Regions from separate parts of the Homo sapiens genome. Here all the other regions are linked to region 2. The links are contacts of gene promoters, found by promoter capture Hi-C in blood cells and fetal thymus (Javierre and others, 2016). All regions are on one chromosome and are shown on one strand. Each heading gives the region's core, a stretch centred on a gene start or on the middle of the fragment in contact. The rest is flanking DNA. Distances are from core to core; before and after follow the strand shown. Region 1 has its middle 390 kb from the start of HGF. Region 2 holds the start of SEMA3C (semaphorin 3C). Region 3 has its middle 400 kb from the start of SEMA3C. Region 4 holds the start of GNAT3 (G protein subunit alpha transducin 3). Region 5 has its middle 420 kb from the start of HGF. Region 6 has its middle 410 kb from the start of SEMA3C. Region 7 has its middle 370 kb from the start of HGF.

Region 1 (2,714 bases), core at 96-2,595, 460 kb before region 2:
ATTTTATTAATATTTTCAATTAATTGATATTCGATATATTTCTCTCTTGTTTTTCTGTTTTCTAATGTATTGACTTTTGCTCATGTCTTTACTATCACCTTCCTTTCATCCAATTTGAAATTATTTTTCCTGGCATTTAGTGCTATTTATACTCACTGTGCATAGTTTTAAATACAGCCTACACATTTGGTATATAGTATTCTCATTTACATTTAAAATATTTTAAAATATTTCCTACCTAATTTTGTTTGACCCTTATGTTATTTGAAATTCTGTTGCCTAATTTCCAAATATTTGTAGATATTCCAAATATCCTTTTTGTCAATGATTTCTAAATGAATCCCATTATGTTCAGAGGCTATACTCAAAATGTGATGATCTGGATGATCTCAAAATATTTAATTTGTTTTGATATTTTTGCTATGGCCCAGCACATGGTCTGTCTTAGGGAATCTTCAATGTACACATGAAAGAATGAATATTTTCCTGTTTAGGGATGCAGTGTCCTGTTGATTTCTACAAGTTCAAATAGTCCTATAATATTATATAAGTCTTTCATTTCCTTACTAATTTTGTGTTTAGTTTCTCCATTCATTACTAAGAAAATAGTATTCCACTCTCCAATGACAGTTGTAGATTTCTCTATTTTCCTTTGTAGTTCTGTCAGCTTTTTCTTTATATGTTTTGAAACTCCTATTACATGACATATATATTTAGGAGTGTTAGGTATTATTGATAAGTTTACTCTCTTATCATTAGTATAAAACATCTGTTTCTAGAAGTATTCCTTGTAAAGAGTCTACTTTGATATTGCTATGCTATTCCAGCTTTCTTATGGTCAGCATGTACATGACATTTGTTGTTTCACCTTTTCATTTTTAAAACGAATTTCTTGAAAACATCACATAATTGTGTTCTGTTTGTTTATTATCCAGTCTAAGAGTTGAAAGTTCTAATGAATTTATATGCAATGTAATCATTGAGATGCTTCAGTATATTGGTATCTTTAAAATTATTATTTAATATTCCATCATCTATTGTATCTGCCTCTATTTTTATTGATCGATTTTTTCTCCTGTTATATATTACATTTTCCTACTTTTATGCATGTCTATTTTTTATTGTGTATGGTTGAATATAGTTATATGTACTGCATCGTTCAATATTTGAGTTTTATTGTCTTAATAGAACACTGGGTTTTTTTCTGAAAGTCAGTGAATTTACTTGTAAATCAGCTTACTCTCTTTGAAGCTTGTTTTTCAAGCTTGATTATGGTGGTTCGTAGTAGCTTTTAATCTAGGACAGATTAGCCCTACTCTTAAGGTATGGACTTTCGGAGACAAGTACTTAATGATCTGGGTTTCCAGTGAGGTCTCTCCACTTTGGAAAGTCATTATTCAACATTACCGGCCTTTTCCAAGCTTAGGTAGTTGTTCAGCTTACAGTTCTATACATGTTGTTTGTTTCAGTTAATAACGAACTTCTTAAAATAAGTTCTTCCCAGTAGTTGCTCTTCACAAGGCTTTGTAAAGTCTCCTCCTGTAAATATATAATCTACTCTCAAGCAGAATACTTAAGGGGAACTTAATGTACAATTTTGGAGCTCTATATCTCCACTGACAGCACTAGACAGGTCAAGACAGAAAGTCTACAAAGAAACAATGGACTTACATTATACCCTACAGCAAATGGACTTAACAGATATTTACCGAACAGTCTACGCAACAACTGTAGAATATACATTCTATTCATCAGCACATGGAACATTCTCCAAGATAGAACATATGACAGACCACAAAACAAGTCTCAGTAAATTTAAGAAAATTGAAAATTCATCAAGTACTCTCTCAGATCACAGTGGAATAAAATTGGAAATCAACTCCAAAAGGAACCCTCAAAACCATGCAAATACGTGGAAATTAATAGCCTGCTCCTGAATGATCACTGGGTCAAGAATGATATCAAGATGGAAAATTGAAATTATTTAAACTGAATGACAATAGTGACGCAATCTATGAAAACCTCTTGGATACAGTAAAGGCAGTGCTAACAGGAAAATTTGTAGCATTAAATGTCTCCATCAGAAAGTCTGGAAAAAGCACAAATAGACCATCTAAGGTCACATCTCGAGGAGCTAGAGAAACAAGAACAAACCAAACCCAAACCCAGCAGAAGAAAAGAAATGACCAAGAGCACAGCAGAACTAAATGAAATTGAAACAAACAAAGAAACAAAAAATACAAAAGATAAATAAAACAAAAAACTGGTTCTTTGAAAAGATAAATAAAATTGATAGTCCATTAATAAGATTAACCAAGTAAAGAAGAGAGAAGATTCAAATAAGCTCAGTTAGAAATAAAACAGGAGATATTACAACTGATACCACAGAAATACAAAGGTCATTCAAGGCTACTATGAACACCTTTACATGCATAAACTAGAAAACCTTGAAGATATGGATAAGTTCCTGGAAATATACAACCTTCCTAGATTAAACCTGGGAGAAATAGAATTTCTGAACAGACCAATAACAAGCCATGAGATTGAAATGGCAATTAAAAGTTACCAACAACAACAAAAATGTCCAGGACCAGAGGGATTCACAGCTATATACTATCAGACATTCAAAGAATGACAATAATCCTACTGACACTATTCCAAAAGTTAGAAAAAGAGAGAATACTCCCTAAATCATTCTGTGAAGCCAATATTAT
Region 2 (2,707 bases), core at 32-2,531:
AGTGACATCTGCTGGGCTGTGCCCCACAGTGATTTTAAGCAAGTGCCTGCTTGTTTTATGGGGATCAAAGCTCATTTCTCCCGATGTTTAAACATCTAGTTTATTGTGGTCCGGAGAAGTAATTTTCACTTAAACATCAAAGTCAGTTCCAGAGTTTAACGAGTGTACCTGAAAGTAATGCTGGAAAAATACCTCTGATGTATTTCTGTAGATGTGTGGTTATGGCAATCTGTTGGCATAACTCAGAACAGCCTCTCCACATAGAATTGTCAAATAATTTCTTCGTGTAATTATGTTTGGGAGTATGGTTGGGGACAACGTACTGGATATGAGTCAACGTGGAGGGGTCAACAGAATTACTGCTTTCAGGGCATTAAGGAAACTCAATAGGAAACAATACCCATTAAAAGGATACACTTGTGCAACAAGATTGTCGTTTATCTTGACCTGTTTTAGAAAACACGCAACAGAGGCCCGGCGCGGTGGCTCTCGGCACTTTGGGCGGCTGAGGCGGGCGGACCATTAGGTCAAGAGATCCAGACCATCCTGGCCCTGTCTCTACTAAAAATACAAAAATTAGCTGGGCGTGGTGGTGGGAGCCTGTAGTCCCAGCTATTCAGGAGGCTGAGGCAGGAGAATCGCTTGAACCCGGGAGGCGGAGGTTGCAGTGAGCCATGATCACACCACTGCACTGCACTCCAGCCTGGCGACAGAGTGAGATTCCCTCTCCAAAAACAAAACAAAAAACAAAAAACAAAAAACAAAAAAAAAACGCAGCAGAATAAGGACAAAACTCACGTCCTTTTAAAAACGCATCTCTTTGCCTTAAAAGGCTGCAGTGATCCTTCCCTGGCAAAAATAAAAAACCACAACTGCTTTGCACTTTGATATTTACGGCCAGGCAAAGCCTGTGTAAGTCTTCGAGAGCCGCCGGCAACAAAAACCGTGGAGCGCACCCAGCAAGTTGCTCACTCCGCCGCGGACTGCGAAAGGAGCAGGGTTGCGGAGCTAGGGCTCCAGCCTGCGGCCGCGCATTCTTGCGTCTGGCCAGCCGCGAGCTCTAAGGGTCGGCCCCGCCCGGTCCGCCCCCGCGGCTCCCTGCCAGGCTCTCGCGGGCGCGCTCGGGGTGGGGCCTCGCGGCTGGCGGAGATGCGGCCGGGGCTGCGCGGTGGTGATGCGAGCCTGCAGGGCGGCGCGCCGGGGCAGCCGGAGCCGCGCGCCGCGGCGCTGTAATCGGACACCAAGAGCGCTCGCCCCCGGCCTCCGGCCACTTTCCATTCACTCCGAGGTGCTTGATTGAGCGACGCGGAGAAGAGCTCCGGGTGCCGCGGCACTGCAGCGCTGAGATTCCTTTACAAAGAAACTCAGAGGACCGGGAAGAAAGAATTTCACCTTTGCGACGTGCTAGAAAATAAGGTCGTCTGGGAAAAGGACTGGAGACACAAGCGCATCCAACCCCGGTAGCAAACTGATGACTTTTCCGTGCTGATTTCTTTCAACCTCGGTAAGCTAAATTGGTCATTTTCCGCATTACAGATTTAGCAAAGTATAACTTTTTTGGCCTGTATATTGATTTTTCATACATTGGTATGCTCAAGCCTGGACATTTTCTTAAGAACACACGCGGTTTGTCAGGGAAGCTTTCCCCTTGCTGAGAGCCCTGCTCGAGTTGTTTCTTTAGGCGGTGACACCTGCGGAGAGTTTCAAGTTGAGTATTACAGTGCCTTCAAAGGCAAAATTGCTCCAGAGGAGATAAGAGAATTCTTTTCTTAATGTGTTGTTAGTTTGCGATCAGCAGAAGTGAAAACACCAAGAGGAACGTCTGTGTCTGAGTTAAAGGGAAGAAGTTGTAAGATACTGTTGGGGAGGCGGGGGTGTATTTAAGACACTTGGCTTTCAGTCTTTCACTCCTCATCACTAGGTGGGATGTAAATCAAATTGCCCTGTAGACTATCTTCGTTTCACCTGCCATTGTATCACCAGTATTCTTTGCAATTGGTTGTATATGTACTTTTGGGAGAAACATATAAGGTAAGATACCAATATGTAAAAAAAATGTGTAAATAATATCAACTTGCTCAGTAAACATAACAAAGGTTAGGCATATTAATAGTTTTTTTCTTTTGGCTTTAACTATGAAGTCAACAGAACCAAGGGGTAAATTACTGAGGGAAAGTCACCCATAAAATCAGTTTCTTTCTAAGTTAATTTAGGGATGACAGGGTGAAGAGGTTGTGGAAGCAGGAAGAAACTGTTTCTTTTGAAAATTACCAACACAAACATCTCTAGAGTTTCCTCCATCTGTGTGGTAAAAGAAGCGTACAATTTCATTTCTAACTCTCATAACATATGCACCACCTAGGAAATCTACTTACAATTTTTGTTTAAAATTGCATATTCCATTTAATTCTTTTTATTCTGTATTAATGAAGCTGTCTTTTTCAGTTGTTAGTGGTTCTTACAAAGAATTTAATAATTTTGACTATGAAATTTTAATTTGAAAAGCCAAATAATGAAGATCAGCATTGTTGTAACCTGTAAAAATAAATTTCTTTACTGGACTCTTGGGTCACTTTATTGTGTAATTATGGTAGAAGCAAAATGATTGTGTTTCTTTAATGGTCCTGAGTTTATTTTACATGATGTAGCCACTAGAGCTCCTGTAGGTTTATGGTAACACATTATCTGGTCTTCCTTGGGATTCAGA
Region 3 (2,700 bases), core at 7-2,506, 400 kb before region 2:
TAAAATTTTTGTTGTGGAATTTGTTACTTTAAAAACTGAATTTTTTTTTTAACCAAGAGAAAAAAAGTATCTCCATTCCTATATTTTATAGATTTTATAAGATGTTTTGAAATTATGAAATCAAAGTTCCAACCATCTCTATTGTCATTCACAGGTATAAACTCTTTCTCTCTGAATTATTTCTTCCTGATCCTAAGCAATATTATATTCTCAATAATTTCCTAATAAATCAAAAGTAATTTATTACTATACAATTTATTGAAAGTGAATAAGAAATTGAGAAATTTGTCTCAAAAATTGAGAAGGGGAATATCACACTCTGGGGACTGTTGTGGGGTGGGGGGAGGGGGGAGGGACAGCATTGGGAGATACACCTAATGCTAGATGACAAGTTAGTGGGTGCAGCGCACCAGCATGGCACATGTATACATACGTAACTAACCTGCACAATGTGCACATGTACCCTAAAACTTAAAAGTATAATAATAATAAAAAAAAAGAAAAAAAGAAAAAAGAAAAAAAAAAACACAGACAATGCTCTCTAGTTTAAGACTTGGACAGACGGTCTAGTAAAAATCCCTTTCACCAAAAGGACACATTAAGTTATAATAAAACTGGACTAGAACGGCTTTATGAATTACCATTTCAGTATATCTTATTGTCCATTACATGTAACATTGCTATTATCTAACATATATGTGATAATTATGTTATATACACTCATGTACTTTGTATTCTGTAGTTTTCCTTGTTTGTTCATGGTACTTTGATTTTTTTTTTTTTGTTTTGTAAAAGAAAACTATGTCATTCTGATTTTTCCCTTAGGTATTTTACCTATTATTGCTTATATTTGAAGCAAGAGTGGCCAAAAATGTACAAACTTAGAATGACAGTTTGATCAGAAATCCATATATTTTCTAGTTTGGAGGCCTTAACTCAAAAGTATAGTTCTTGGAAATGGCTGCAGGTGTTTACGATCTCCACAAGACAACTATGGATTTAGGGAAATAAGTTGATCAAGAAATTAGGAAAAAAATCTCACTGAAACTATATTCAGTGTCATTTTAAATTCAAAGCCAACAAATATTTTAATCAAAAGAGTAAAACTAAGTTCCAACATGGGAAAGAGTGCAAATGGAATTCAATGCCCCTTTTGTTATTTTGATCGCATTCAGTACCAGAAAAATACTTTGCGTCATATTTTGTAGTAACATTTAACGTGGTTTTAACATATGACTTAATTTATATCAATTTATATCAATAAATAAGATATTTATAATCAATATCTTTTTCCATAAAGTGAAGAAAATCAAGTGTTAGGAAAGTTTGAGCCATTTACATGTCATTTTATTATTAAGAAATCGTAGGGGCTAATCTCCAACTTAAAAACATAATATTTTGACACAAGTAAAATATTTAGGTATCTAATTATTGAGCATATCCCTAACCTACAATAACTGTTATTTCAAGTAATAGAGTATATCTCACTATAGAATATTTGCCTTCAGGTACAGTCATGTTAGCACAAAACATCATAATATGAAAACATCATAATATTTTGACACAAGTAAAAGTTTTAAAACATCATCATATTTTGACACAAGTAAAAGATTAAAACATCATAATATTTTGACACAAGTAAACATCATAATATTTTAAAACATAATATTTTGACACAAGTAAGAGATTTAGGTATCTAATTATTGGGTGTATCTCTAACATACAATAACTGTTATTTCAAGTAATAGAGTATATCTCACTATAGAATATTTGGCTTCAGATACAGTCATGTTAGCACAATGTTGTAAAGTTACCTCAAATAATAATGTATTCTCTTGCATGGTTATGTTACTTATTAACTGCATTTTTTTCTTTTTATAACTTTTATATTTCAAATGTGTAAAATGTACATAGTTCTAATGTCAAAATTATGTTGAAAAATATAATATTCTATGAGTCTTGTTCTCATCCCCATTATCACGTATCATTGTTTAGTCTTTTCCTTCTTGAGTGCGTATGCATATGTGTGTGTGTTTATGCATGCATACAAAAAATAAACACATATATACATGTATAATCTTATTTTCTGTTTTTATAATAGAAAGATAGCATCCTATTTTTTGTTCTTCTATACTTTACATTTTTCAAATAAATTTTTCTCTCAATGAGTAAGTTATAGAACATTTATTTTGAAACAAAATAACATAGCGTTTGGGCAGATTCTGAAATTCACTAATCATAAATCTTGCTTGATAACATAGACAGCTATGATAACAGTGATATACAGATGCACTTTATCTTAAAATAAATTATGGACATGAGCAATGTATTTGTAAAGAAAAATAATAATAACAGCTAACATTTTTGAGTACTTAAGTGTAATCTACCTTTCCGGATAGTTTCAGTGTATATCTTTTCTTTTATCTCATTACTTTTCCAGCTTTATTCAGGTACAATTGGCAAATAAAATTGTAGGCAATAAAGTTACACAACATGTTTTGGTATATATATATGGTGAATTGATTACCACAATCAGGCTAATTAACATACTGTTCAATTCACATAGTTACCTTTTTTCTTTTTGTGGTGAGATTATTTAAAATCTACTCTTTTAGCAAATTTCAAGTATGTAGTAGAATATTATACACCATAGTCACCTCCAGATCTGAATCATTCTGCATAACTGAAATTTTGTATTCT
Region 4 (2,968 bases), core at 162-2,661, 410 kb after region 2:
GACTTTGTGTTCACAGGTGAGCATTAGGCCGTGCAAATCTCCTTCCTTTGGGACAGGCCCTTTGCATTGTAAAAGCAATACCACATGATTTGCACAAATCCTTGCCTATCCACCACTGCACATCTTTATACTATCATAATATGGCTTTGGAAGAACGGAACCCAGGAAGTTTTGACTATGTTTATGTATCTTCAGCCTAATATTTTTGATGTGGAAAAAGTAAACAAAGCAGGACTATGTATTTAATCTGGCAGCCTATTTTCTTGTTGCATGAATATGTAAAAACTCACCTGTTCAAACTTTGCACATGATCCCACAAGAAGAGCACCACTGACAGGTTGGTGGATTGACTGTATTCTGGCATTTTCTGGTTAAGCACATTCACAAATCCCAAAATGCACACTGAAAGATGTGCCACAGGCAACCGACTCTGTTCATAAGGAAAATATTGATTGACTATCTACCAAGCACTTTATGCTTCATATAAATAAAAAATTGTGCAACATAATCTCTGCCCTCAATCCTGAAGATTTTCAAGAAGTACATGGTATCTGTTGGGGTAGTTGAAAGCTATGGAACTTATTTAGGTGTAATTACTGTTTTTAGTTTGTAGGAAAAACCAAATTACCTGCTGTTTCAAAGAACATTGGTTTTTATTCCCTTGGTACCAAATCAGTAAGAGTCCCTCCAGCACAGCAGCTGTTGCTTAATGGCCCTAAAGAGTTAATGCGCTGCCTAAATTGAACATAGTTCAGTGTCTACACCAAGTGGGCCCTCAATTAGTGTTGATGGATTGACTTTCTCACAGGCGGCAAAAGCTCAATTTATAGAGATGGATCCTATGACACTAAAATCAATAATTTAAGAAAACTGTGTTGAATTTTATATTTGTAGCAATACAATATGTACAAATATAAAAACTATATGTATTTGTATCCATTGTTAAAAAAAAGATTTTTTTTGTTCCCTGACAGATGCTAATAGATGCTCAATAGCTTTAAGTAATAATCTAAGCATAGGTAGACCATAAAAGTTGGATAACTTACATGTATATATTCTGATTGTGATATAGGAGTGATTATAAAGAAATTGAAGGGCCAAATATCTGAAGATAAGATGTAAGCATCGCTGATTAGTAATAATAACTTTTAATCACAGTAATAAAAATTGCCCAGTAGTGAGAAACATTCTATTTGAATTGCTTATTGTAGATCATCTCTAGTGTATAGATTTTGACAACTTTCTACATTATTTTATACTATAAAGCAGATAAGCCTGTTTTCGAAGATGTGCCCGAAGCAGTCATTTAATTTGAAAGCATAATGAACTTCCTCTCTAGCCTCCATCAGGGGGGTATGGTTTTACCACCTGATCAGGTGACAGATGAGAAAGCATCTCCTTAGTCAAAGCAGAATCTTAGAGCATTAGGGAATGGACTGCTAGGTACTTCAGCAGAGCATTACTCTTGCCTCCTATGTCCAAACCACAGCTGTGCTCAACATTTGAAAAATCTGAACATATAAACTGACAAGTATCTACCACCACAAGATGGGAAGTGGAATTAGTTCAGAGAGCAAGGAGTCAGCCAAAAGATCAAAAGAACTGGAGAAAAAGCTTCAGGAGGATGCTGAGCGAGATGCAAGAACCGTAAAGCTGCTACTATTAGGTAATTTCTTTTCCCTTTTGCTTTCAAAAACCTGACTTTTTTTTCAATTGTGATATATTTACTTTTCTCAGACTTTAATTTCGAGTGTATTATCATATGGGAAATTTATTATAAAAATGTGTTTGGAAACTTAAGGAAAATTTATTTGTACTCTATCAATATTTAATAATTTTTCTGTTTAGTATTTTATTACCTTTTTGTTAAGCAAGGAGGCAAATATTTATCAGCTAATTTCTCTGTCAGTAATATGGTTTACTATTATTAAAATAAAAATCAGATACATTTATTATTTTATTGCACCCTAATCATTTTCTGAATGTCAGCTTTTTAATACTGAAAGAAATCCTTTAGCTACAAGTTATAAAGAGTTATATTATTTTGTTTAAACAGAAATAGGTTGAATTGTTTGACGTTGAAGTTAATGTTTGTTATTTACTTGTATAGTTAAAAATCAATTAGTCAAGTTAGAGAACAATGATAAGGTACTTTAAATTATATTAACAATATTACTTAGGCTCCTGAATACTGCCTGCAATATTGCCTGTACACTTGAAAAATACTCTACCTAAATCCTTTTAGAGCATTTATATATTCATTCAGGTCAGGATTTATGTCTCTTTTATTTTTTTTTCCTTCTTTCAAAACTCAGCACTGTTTTACCTTGACTATAAATTCAATAAATGTTCAATTAATTGAAAGAATAAAAATAATCCATATGCAGATTTTTTCTATAAAGCATAAAACATTTTACATGCAGTTTCACTGAAACAGAAATATGTTTTTGAAATAAAAATGATGACCTATATAAAGAATACAAAGCAAGCACTTACTTCTGATTCAATTATGAGTTGTACTTTCTCCCTGATTTTGGTTATACACAAAAGGACTTCATCTTATTTCAGAATCGTGCATATTTCACATAACAAATTTCCTCATATTTTAAGTATTTAAACACTTAAATACTTAATATTAAATGAATTAAATACTTAAACTTATTTAAGTATTCCTTCGTTGTGTCTAATTTGCTCCCAGTGGCAAGAGTGTTTCAGAAGCCAACTGTGGGATTCCCAGCACTTGCTCCTTAAAGGAAAGGAAACATCCTTGCCCCTTACACACAGGTTCTGTGCCTGCACACAGGCCCACAGCACTTGTCAGTAACTACCCAGAGGTTGGTGACTTTGAAAGATGTGGGTTAAGTACTAATGACACCAGGAAATATATGCTTCCTAACACACCATAGAATTCTGTTAGTTTCTGAGCAAGAGTGAAAGTAATATGGACACAGGAAAAGCAAATGAAAGG
Region 5 (2,700 bases), core at 128-2,627, 440 kb before region 2:
TCATGATCTAGAGCAAAATTATAAGGATGAACATTCTATCAAGGTAATGATTAAGCTTCAGTTTTCCTAGTGGTTTGTCAACGACCTGTAAGACAAATTTAGAGGACATTTCTAAGAACTATATTTTTTTTCTCTACTTAAATTTTTTTAATGTTTAAATAAAATTATTAGAAATGCATGAAAAAATTCGAGGCATAATGAGTCAATTCCACTTTGAACTGAATTCTATCTGCAGATAGAGTAGATTGGTGCTTCTCTGGTGCTACACCTGGATACCTTAGATATTGCTTTCTTTTTCTTTTTTTTTTTTTCCACATGCATAAGCCTAAATAGCAATTCAGTATTCTACTTGCAAATCTTCATTTTAAACTGCATACTCTTTGAGCAGTGATAATGTATATTTTTATTTCTACCGTTATGCCTAGCATAAAGAAAATATTTAAAAAATGTTTATGGAGTTGACTTAAATTTAAATATTGGTTTAATAATAAACACTTAGTTGTGATGATAGCAAAATAAATTTTTCCTTCTATTTCTTGCAGTTGTGTTCTTTTTCCATGCAGAGATTTGCATCTATAGTCTAGAATGGGTGAGTGTCTCTAGGCAGGATTTTTGGAGTCTTGAAAAGTCAAAAAAAGATCCAGAATAGAACCAAGTAAATAGTGTGGTCTGAAATGGGTGTAATGACCAGGAACAGAAAAACAATGGCAGTCCTAGAGCCTTGAGAATAGATTCAGTCACCTATGTGTGGTGCAGAGTATGTGAGAACAGAAGACAGATAAGAAGTCCTGGAAAATCGAGGCAGAACTAGCTTGTAGCTTCCGCTCCGATGAACAGAGCAGCGTGCAAAGACTCACATTGTGAATTTTTTCTCCAAGAACTACTGCAGGAACATACCAGGAAAGCCGCGAGAATCCACAACGTTTTGAAGGAGCTGCATCGCTACTGCAGGCTCCCTGAGATGCTGAAAAAGTGTGAGTCTGCTTGCTTTCTCAATGGGGAGGCTCATGGTCTGGGACAAGTTCTCAGCCCTGTTCACTGGATGACAAGGTACTGTTGTTGGGGCACCATGGGAGTGGGCATGGCCTTTAGGACTGTAGGTTGTGTGGGAGTGGGGTTAGGTTTGTGACTGCTGGCTTTCCCCCACTTCCCTGGTGACCTATATGACTCAGCAGAGGGAGACACAATATTCCTGGGAATATAACTCCCTTGAATTTGGGAACCACACCCACAGCAGCAGCAGCAAGCCCTGCCCAAGAAAAGGCTGAGCTCAGACACACCTATCCCTGCGTTCACCTGGGGTCTTTCTCAACTCACCCTGGTAGCTGAAGACAAAGGTCATAATCTCTTGGGTGCCCTATGGCCCTGCCCATTGCCTGACAAATCTGAATACTTAACTAGGTGTCCCTAGGGCAACTGTGCATCCTGCATATAGGACCACAGCTGATGAGCTATTGAAAGTTCCACTTCCTGGCTAGAGGCCAACCAACACAAAACCAGCACACTAAACAAGAATACAACCAAGGACTCTCAAAGAGTCCACTTCACTCCCTTGCTGACTCCACTGCAGCAGGTGCTGGTATCCACAGTTGCAAGACCTGAAGATGGATCATATCAAAAGACTCATTGCAGACATTCTCCAGTTTCAGCTTGGAGTCCGCTACTCTGCTGGGTGGTTAGACCTAGAAGAGCAGAAACAATAACTACAGTTTGTCTCTTGGGAAGCACCATTCCTAGGAGAAGGGGGAGAGCACCATATCAAGGGAGCACCCTGTGGGACAAAATAATGTGAACAGCAGCCCTTGTATTCCAGATCTTCTCTCTGACATCGTCTACTCAAATGAGAAGGAAACAGGAAAACAATTCTGGTAGTATGACAAAACAAGGTTCTTTAGCAGCCCCAAAAGATCATACCAGCTCACCAGCAATGGATCCAAACCAAGACAAAAATCTCTGAACAGTCAGAAAGAGAATTCAGAAGGTTGATTATTAAGCTAATCAAAGAGGCACAAGAGAAAGGTGAAGTCCAACTTGAAGTCAAAAACATGATACAGGATATTAAAGGAAAATTCTTCAGTCAAATAGATAGCATAAATAAAAACAATCACAATTTCTGGAAATCAAGGACACACTTAGAGAAATGCAAAATGCACTGAAAAGTCTCAGCAATAGAATCGAAAAAGCAGAAGGAAGAACCTCAGAACTCAAAGACAAGGCTTTCAAATTAACTCAATCCATCAAAGACAAAGAAAAAATAATTTAAAAAGAAAACCTCCAGGAAATTGGGACTATGTTAAACGTCCAAATTTAAGAATAATTGGTGTTCCCAAAAAGGAAGAGAAATCCAAAAGTTTGGAAATCATATTTGAGGGAATAATTAAGGAAAACTTCCCTGATCTTGCTAGTGATCTAGACATCCAAATACAAGAAGCCCGAAGAACATCTGGGAAATTCATCCCGAAAAGACCATTGTCTAGCCACATAGTCATCAGCTTACCTAAAGTCAAGATGAAGGAAAGGATCTTAACAGCTGTGAGGCAAATGCATCAGGTAACCTGTAAAGAAAAACCTATCAGATTAACAACAGATTTCTCAGCAGAAACTCTGCAAGCTAGAAGGGATTGGGGTCCTATCTTTAGACTCTTTAAACAAAAAAATTATCAGCCAAGAAATTTTTTATCCAGGAAAACTAAGCTTCAT
Region 6 (2,760 bases), core at 169-2,668, 410 kb before region 2:
CTGCTGAAAGAGAAGTAGATGTTAGAATTAAGTTAGAGCTTTCCCCCAGCTGTGCCTCCATAAATTTTCTGATAAACATTTCACTAAGGAATCTTTCACTCCCAAAACCCTCATCCCCTGCCCACCTTAACCAATACCATTATTCTAGCAGGAATGTTATTGATGAAAAAATGTTTTGTCCCCAACATATGCTAAAGTAAGTCTTATGCAACATATGCATAAGACCGATAATCTCTGTTCAAGCTTATTTAGTTCCACAGGCACCTCTTTATCTCATGGGAATTCAGGATGGCCTTAACTTCATGGGCACAGTCTAAAAAGAGATATGTTTTGTTTGAATGTAGGGAGATCAACCATTTCGTTTCACCCAGGACAATTTCAGTCCTGGGCAAACCAAGACAGTTAGTCATCATATTTGAATGGAAAATAATTTGTTTTCTTTTGTTTGAAACTGAAACATAAAATTGACCATCACAGTTGCCAAATCTGTTTTTCCAAGAAAAACTGAAAATCCTGACTTTAAAATGTCAAATCATCTGATTTTTAAATATTGTTTTGAAATGTTTAGCCTATTAATCAAACACTAATCTAGGTGTTGCTATGAAAATATTTGGTAAATTTTATTAGGATCAACAATCATTTAACTTTAAGTAAGGGAGAATATTCCCAATAATCTGGGAGAAACTGGCTCAATCAGTTGAAATAATTTAAGAGCAGAACTGAGGTATTCCTGAGCAAGAGGAAATTCTGTCTCAAGACTGAAGCATTAGCTTCTCCAGGAGAGTTCCAGCCTGCCCCTTTGACAGACTACCCTCTGGATCTCAAATTTACAGAAGCAGATCCCCATAATTATGTAAGTCAATTCCTTGCAATAAATATCTCTCTTTCCCTTTGATGATTGACAGATGATAGATAGATAGATAGATAGATAGATAGATAGATAGATAGATAGACAGACAGATAGATAGACAGGAAGCTGGCCAGATGATAGATAGAGAGGTAGATCCTATTGGTTCTGTTTCTATCCCTGCAGATGCAACAGTACTGGTTGAGCATTTCTGTGTGATTGTAAATTATCTGGAGCTTTGCTTCTTTAGATAAGGTGCTCTGAAATCACCACAATCAGCATCTGGCCTCCTTCACCCACTTACTATAATTGCTGAATTCCTAGAGGCATTGTGACTCACCATGGAAATGATAATATTTTGCTGATATTATAATATCTCTACTTAAAAAAAGAGAATGCCTCCAAACTTTGTAACTAGAGATTGAAATAGCAAAAAAGATAGAGATAAGAAATGTTGAACCATAAACACAATTTATGAAATGCTAGGGTAGTAAAATAATAATACAAATATTACAACTCTTCTAGCAATTTTTTGAAAAAACATAGAAAGGAGAGGTTTGGGTTAATATTCAGGAAGTTTTTAAGAGTAGAATAGCAGACATTCTTGAGGAAAGGATTACGAAGCAAACATGTAATCAGAAAGGGAGGTACTCCAAATCTGGAGAAAGTGATATACATGTCTTTCTATCCTTGAAAAACCAACCAAAACAGCCAGATTTTTCAAATAAATAAATAAATCACTTGAAAGATAGGCTATGGCTTATTCTTGGGTACTACATCACATTTTAAAAATTGGATTTATATTCAGGGGCAGTTGTCTAGGCTTATTGTATGGTCAGTGGATTATACCACCAACTTCAGGCCACTCTCTCCCCCACAAAACTAACCAGTCCACTTTCCCTTCTAATATAATCTCTCATGAGGTTCCTTAATCAGTTACCTAATACTGTCTCAAATGCCATGGTTTTTATTCTCAACTATGCTAAAAGCTAATAAAGTTTATTTGATAAACACTTTTATATGAGTGAGTTTCTGTTACAGCAGTTAGTTAATAAACAAGCATAAATGTCACATCAGATTCTTCCATTTTAATAGGAAAGCAGGGCTGCCATTATCTAATATGAAGCTGGAGAGACCCATAGGACTCACTATATGGAGTAAGATCGATTCAGTTTACTTCGGAGCTAGTAGAAACTCGGAGAGAATTTCTCTTTTTTAGAACTATAAATGCAACTAGCTATGCATTTCATAATTTCCTTATATTTTTTGAGTAGTTGACTTAATTTATTTAACTGTTGCTATGTAAAATACGTGAGTGTTATTTGTTTTACCCATTTTCATTTCATCATCTAATTTCCATCAGCTACCTCCTCAATTATAGTTTAAGCCATTGTCAGGAATTAGCTAGCAGCAAAATTGAACACAAGAAGGACATGCAGTACATATAAAAAAAGCACCCAAGATGCAAGGGATCCAGAAGGAAAAAGGTGGCTCTACCAAACAAAGCAATGGGTTAGTCATGATGCTGGCCATGCCTTCCTGCTTCTGGCTCTCATACGCATAAAACAAGATACTGCTTCCTCATTGTGGCAGGTGTGACCTTTACATTGCTAAAACCAGAAATGTTTCTATTACTTTACACATGAGACTCCCAAGATCAGAGACAGTTAAGAAAGAGGTTGTTTTGAAATGTGGACCTGTTTGGCATACCAGGGTGAACCATATTAGATCAATACAAAAGCTTAACACAGAGCTATGTTATTGACTTGTTAATAAAGGTGTACTTAGGCTTGCCCAAGACTGCCAGTAAGACAGAATATAAGTATAATGAAATACAGTGGATTCCAGGATGCATAGTAGCATTCTACTTATGCATGCCATGTATTCCCTTGATCATAAAATCTAGGCCACTA
Region 7 (2,821 bases), core at 155-2,654, 480 kb before region 2:
CCAAGGAGCATGATCAGAAGATATTCCAGTATCAGTGCCTTGAGATGATCAGAGCTAGCTCTCCCTTACAGCCATATAGGCTCTAATCTTGAAAGCCCAGGCAAGGGTTTTAACTCCTTCCCTTAAACTGAGGTTCTCCTGGGATCTTACTTTCCTTCCAGTGTGATCAGCTGGGACCAATCCCTTACAATAGAAATTAAGTAATGAATTAGAAATTTAAAGGGGAAAGGAGGAGATCCTCAGCCTCTTTTTTGCTGCAGAACTCTTAGCCTCCATAAGAATTTCTCACTACTTTTCTAGTATTCTTAAAAAATGTTCCAAACCGGTGGATGTGGGAAATAGGTATCAAGACTATATGCGCATACATACTTTAAGGCCCAGGTGTTTGCCTTGCTAAAAACAAAATCCAATAACATTAAAATTTATCTTATTACCTGATTCTTCCAGAATAATAGAACATTTCATACCTTAAAATTGCATAATTGAAAGAGCCACAAAAGCTTTGCTTCTTAGAAAATAAATTAAGTTCTGTACTAATGTAACTTCTAGAAAGTCCTCTGGAAATAGATTCAGCTAGGGGCTACTAATTACTCATCTGCCTATCCACAGTCCATTTAAGAAACCAAGTAATCATCACTAATTCATTAATTTAACAAATATTTGTGGAGAACTTAATATTTGACTGACACTGCATAAAGTGGTTACAAAATGCAACACAACTTAAAAGTGAGATAAAGATAAAGGTAAAGTGAGATAAAGGTTTTTTTTCTGATTCCAAGATAATACGATCAGGTAATTCATGTAAACATATGTAGTTCAAACAAGAAGGAAAGTTCATCTTAGAACTCTGCCTTTAGAGAGAATAAAAGACAAATTAGGTTAGAGGAATTACAAAACACTAAAATAAGAAGCTGTCTGCACTGGTCAAAATTTCTTCCTACCTTAGTGGTTTTATAACTTATTTCTAGAAAGAAAGAATAAAAGGAGTGTTGTCAAGTTAATTCACATTCACCTACTTTCTCTCACTCACTCACTTATTGCTTATGTAACTGAGCTAGACACTTTCAAAAATAGCAACACATTGGCAAACAACTAAGGAATATACATTAAAATATCTTCACATAGAAATATTTTTAATATTGACTTAATCATTCTGTATTGGAAGATTTACATCCATATAAGCAAGCATTCAATTCAAGAATTAAAAATATTTTGAAATAAATGATTCTACAATGACTATATAAATAAGTGGCTGAGTTTACTGAGTTATTGTAAATTTATTCATGTGGATTTGGAAATTTTTAGTACGAATTTGGTCACTTCTGATACATAGGTCAATTTTAAAGTATTCTTGGTGGTCTTCTTGTTGTTGTTGTTTTGTCTTTTAGAGATGAAACCTCTCTTTGTCACCCAGGATGCAGTACAGAGACATGATCATAGCTCACGGCAGCCTCAACCTCCTGGGCTCAAGCAATCCTCCTGGCTAAGCCTCTCTAGTCTCTGGGATTAGTCCCCAGCCACTGTGCCGAACTTCGATGCTTTCAATTTACATCCCACTATATTCGGCATGACCTTATAAGTAATAGTGGGTCATAATTCAAAAAAAAATCAACAAAAATGCTTTAGGGAACAACCTATTATATAATTCAGATAAATCTTAGTCATTCTTCAGTGACGAAGTTAAAAAAAAACGAAAACATTAGAATGAGAATTAGTAAATCTGTTTGTAGATACTTTTCTGACACTAAATAAGTGGACTTGAGCGAATCACACACTCTTGGTGTATATTATCATTAGTGAGATGTATTATACGTATTCACCAGAACTCTCCACGATCACCTTTCTCACTCTTGGATTCTTTCTCTTTAACATGAAAGAAAAGCCTCCATCCTAATTTTTGTCAGGAAGTTGGTTGCTGTTATGTGGTTTCATAAGATGTTTATTAAACTTTGCAAAAGTGACAGCCTGTATTGTATGTTGTTGTTTTTCAAATTCTATTGAAGCATAATAAATTTAACAATTAGAAGTTTTCTGTCTCTCTTTCCCCATATCTCTGTCTCTCTCTCTCCATATAAACATAAATATTGTACTTTTATTTGTCTCTATATGTGTATATACATATATAGTATGCATATATGTAAAAATAATATATGTTTTTGTATATACACACATATACAAATATTGGATTTTAAACCACAAATATAAAAGACACTCATGCCTTTTCAATCCTCACTCTCACCTCACTAAGGTAATCATTGTTAATGTTGATTTGTACCCTTCCATATATTTTCTATTTTCAGAAGCTTAGAGAGCATATATTTGTATTCAGAGAGATGTTTCTCTTCCTTCTTCTTTCTCTCCTTATTTCCTCCCTCTCTCTTTTTTTCCATTATTCATTTCTTTCTTTATTTACTCATACATGTTATCAGAATATGCACAGCCATTTTACTAATTGTGGGTTATAAGCCACTAGCAATTTGTGGAATTAGCTTAATGATCTTTAAAACACTTTAGCTTAAAAAACTAAACTTTAAAAATAAGAAGAATGGAATAGAATAGAAAATATTCGTGTATCACTTATAAAAAATGTAAGGAAATTTCATTTCATTAAACTTTATATCATTTATGTATATATTTATATGTATGTGTGTACATCTAAGATTACAAACATAGATGCAGAAGTCTGTGCTTGAAATGTGCACACGTGAATGAGTACTGAGTTCAGATCATTCTAGAAGATGAATTTCTCATGGTAATAATAGAAAAAATGGTTGAGAACTTTGTTTTGTAAAATTTTTTCTTTTGGTTTACAAACTATTTG

What was found. Contacts are between HindIII fragments. The CHiCAGO score rates a contact against its expected background, and 5 or more counts as called.
Region 1: a contact is called between a fragment that was not itself captured here and the fragment with the promoter of SEMA3C in region 2, in 2 of 17 cell types (erythroblasts and neutrophils). The highest score is 6.0, in erythroblasts.
Region 3: a fragment that was not itself captured here is called in contact with the fragment with the promoter of SEMA3C in region 2 in 1 of 17 cell types (neutrophils); the score reaches 7.0 in neutrophils.
Region 4: the fragment with the promoter of GNAT3 here is called in contact with the fragment with the promoter of SEMA3C in region 2 in 1 of 17 cell types (M0 macrophages); the score reaches 7.1 in M0 macrophages.
Region 5: a fragment that was not itself captured here is called in contact with the fragment with the promoter of SEMA3C in region 2 in 2 of 17 cell types (neutrophils and erythroblasts); the score reaches 7.8 in neutrophils.
Region 6: a fragment that was not itself captured here is called in contact with the fragment with the promoter of SEMA3C in region 2 in 1 of 17 cell types (endothelial precursors); the score reaches 5.3 in endothelial precursors.
Region 7: a contact is called between a fragment that was not itself captured here and the fragment with the promoter of SEMA3C in region 2, in 2 of 17 cell types (neutrophils and erythroblasts). The highest score is 7.1, in neutrophils.

Annotation. Positions count from the first base shown.
Region 1 is chr7:81,376,155-81,378,868 of GRCh38, reverse strand. No RefSeq gene overlaps it. Among named protein-coding and RNA genes, the nearest start is that of HGF, 390 kb to the left of the region's middle. The HindIII fragment of the contact is 157 bases long and covers 1,267-1,423 here.
Region 2 is chr7:80,917,625-80,920,331 of GRCh38, reverse strand. SEMA3C (semaphorin 3C) reads left to right here and starts at 1,281. Exons shown (of 18, transcript NM_006379.5): 1 at 1,281-1,504. RefSeq lists a silencer at 1,015-1,144 and an enhancer at 1,692-1,761. The HindIII fragment of the contact is 5,149 bases long and covers 1-1,642 here.
Region 3 is chr7:81,313,115-81,315,814 of GRCh38, reverse strand. No RefSeq gene overlaps it. Among named protein-coding and RNA genes, the nearest start is that of SEMA3C, 400 kb to the right of the region's middle. The HindIII fragment of the contact is 4,398 bases long and covers 1-2,700 here.
Region 4 is chr7:80,510,507-80,513,474 of GRCh38, reverse strand. It overlaps GNAT3 (G protein subunit alpha transducin 3), which reads left to right and starts at 1,411. Exons shown (of 8, transcript NM_001102386.3): 1 at 1,411-1,666. The coding sequence starts at 1,549. LOC107986812 (a long non-coding RNA gene) reads right to left here. Exons shown (of 3, transcript XR_001745252.2): 3 at 1-430. The HindIII fragment of the contact is 5,637 bases long and covers 1-1,616 here.
Region 5 is chr7:81,353,125-81,355,824 of GRCh38, reverse strand. No RefSeq gene overlaps it. Among named protein-coding and RNA genes, the nearest start is that of HGF, 420 kb to the left of the region's middle. RefSeq lists an enhancer at 561-1,760. The HindIII fragment of the contact is 2,639 bases long and covers 58-2,696 here.
Region 6 is chr7:81,329,961-81,332,720 of GRCh38, reverse strand. No RefSeq gene overlaps it. Among named protein-coding and RNA genes, the nearest start is that of SEMA3C, 410 kb to the right of the region's middle. The HindIII fragment of the contact is 2,345 bases long and covers 246-2,590 here.
Region 7 is chr7:81,394,374-81,397,194 of GRCh38, reverse strand. No RefSeq gene overlaps it. Among named protein-coding and RNA genes, the nearest start is that of HGF, 370 kb to the left of the region's middle. The HindIII fragment of the contact is 1,803 bases long and covers 503-2,305 here.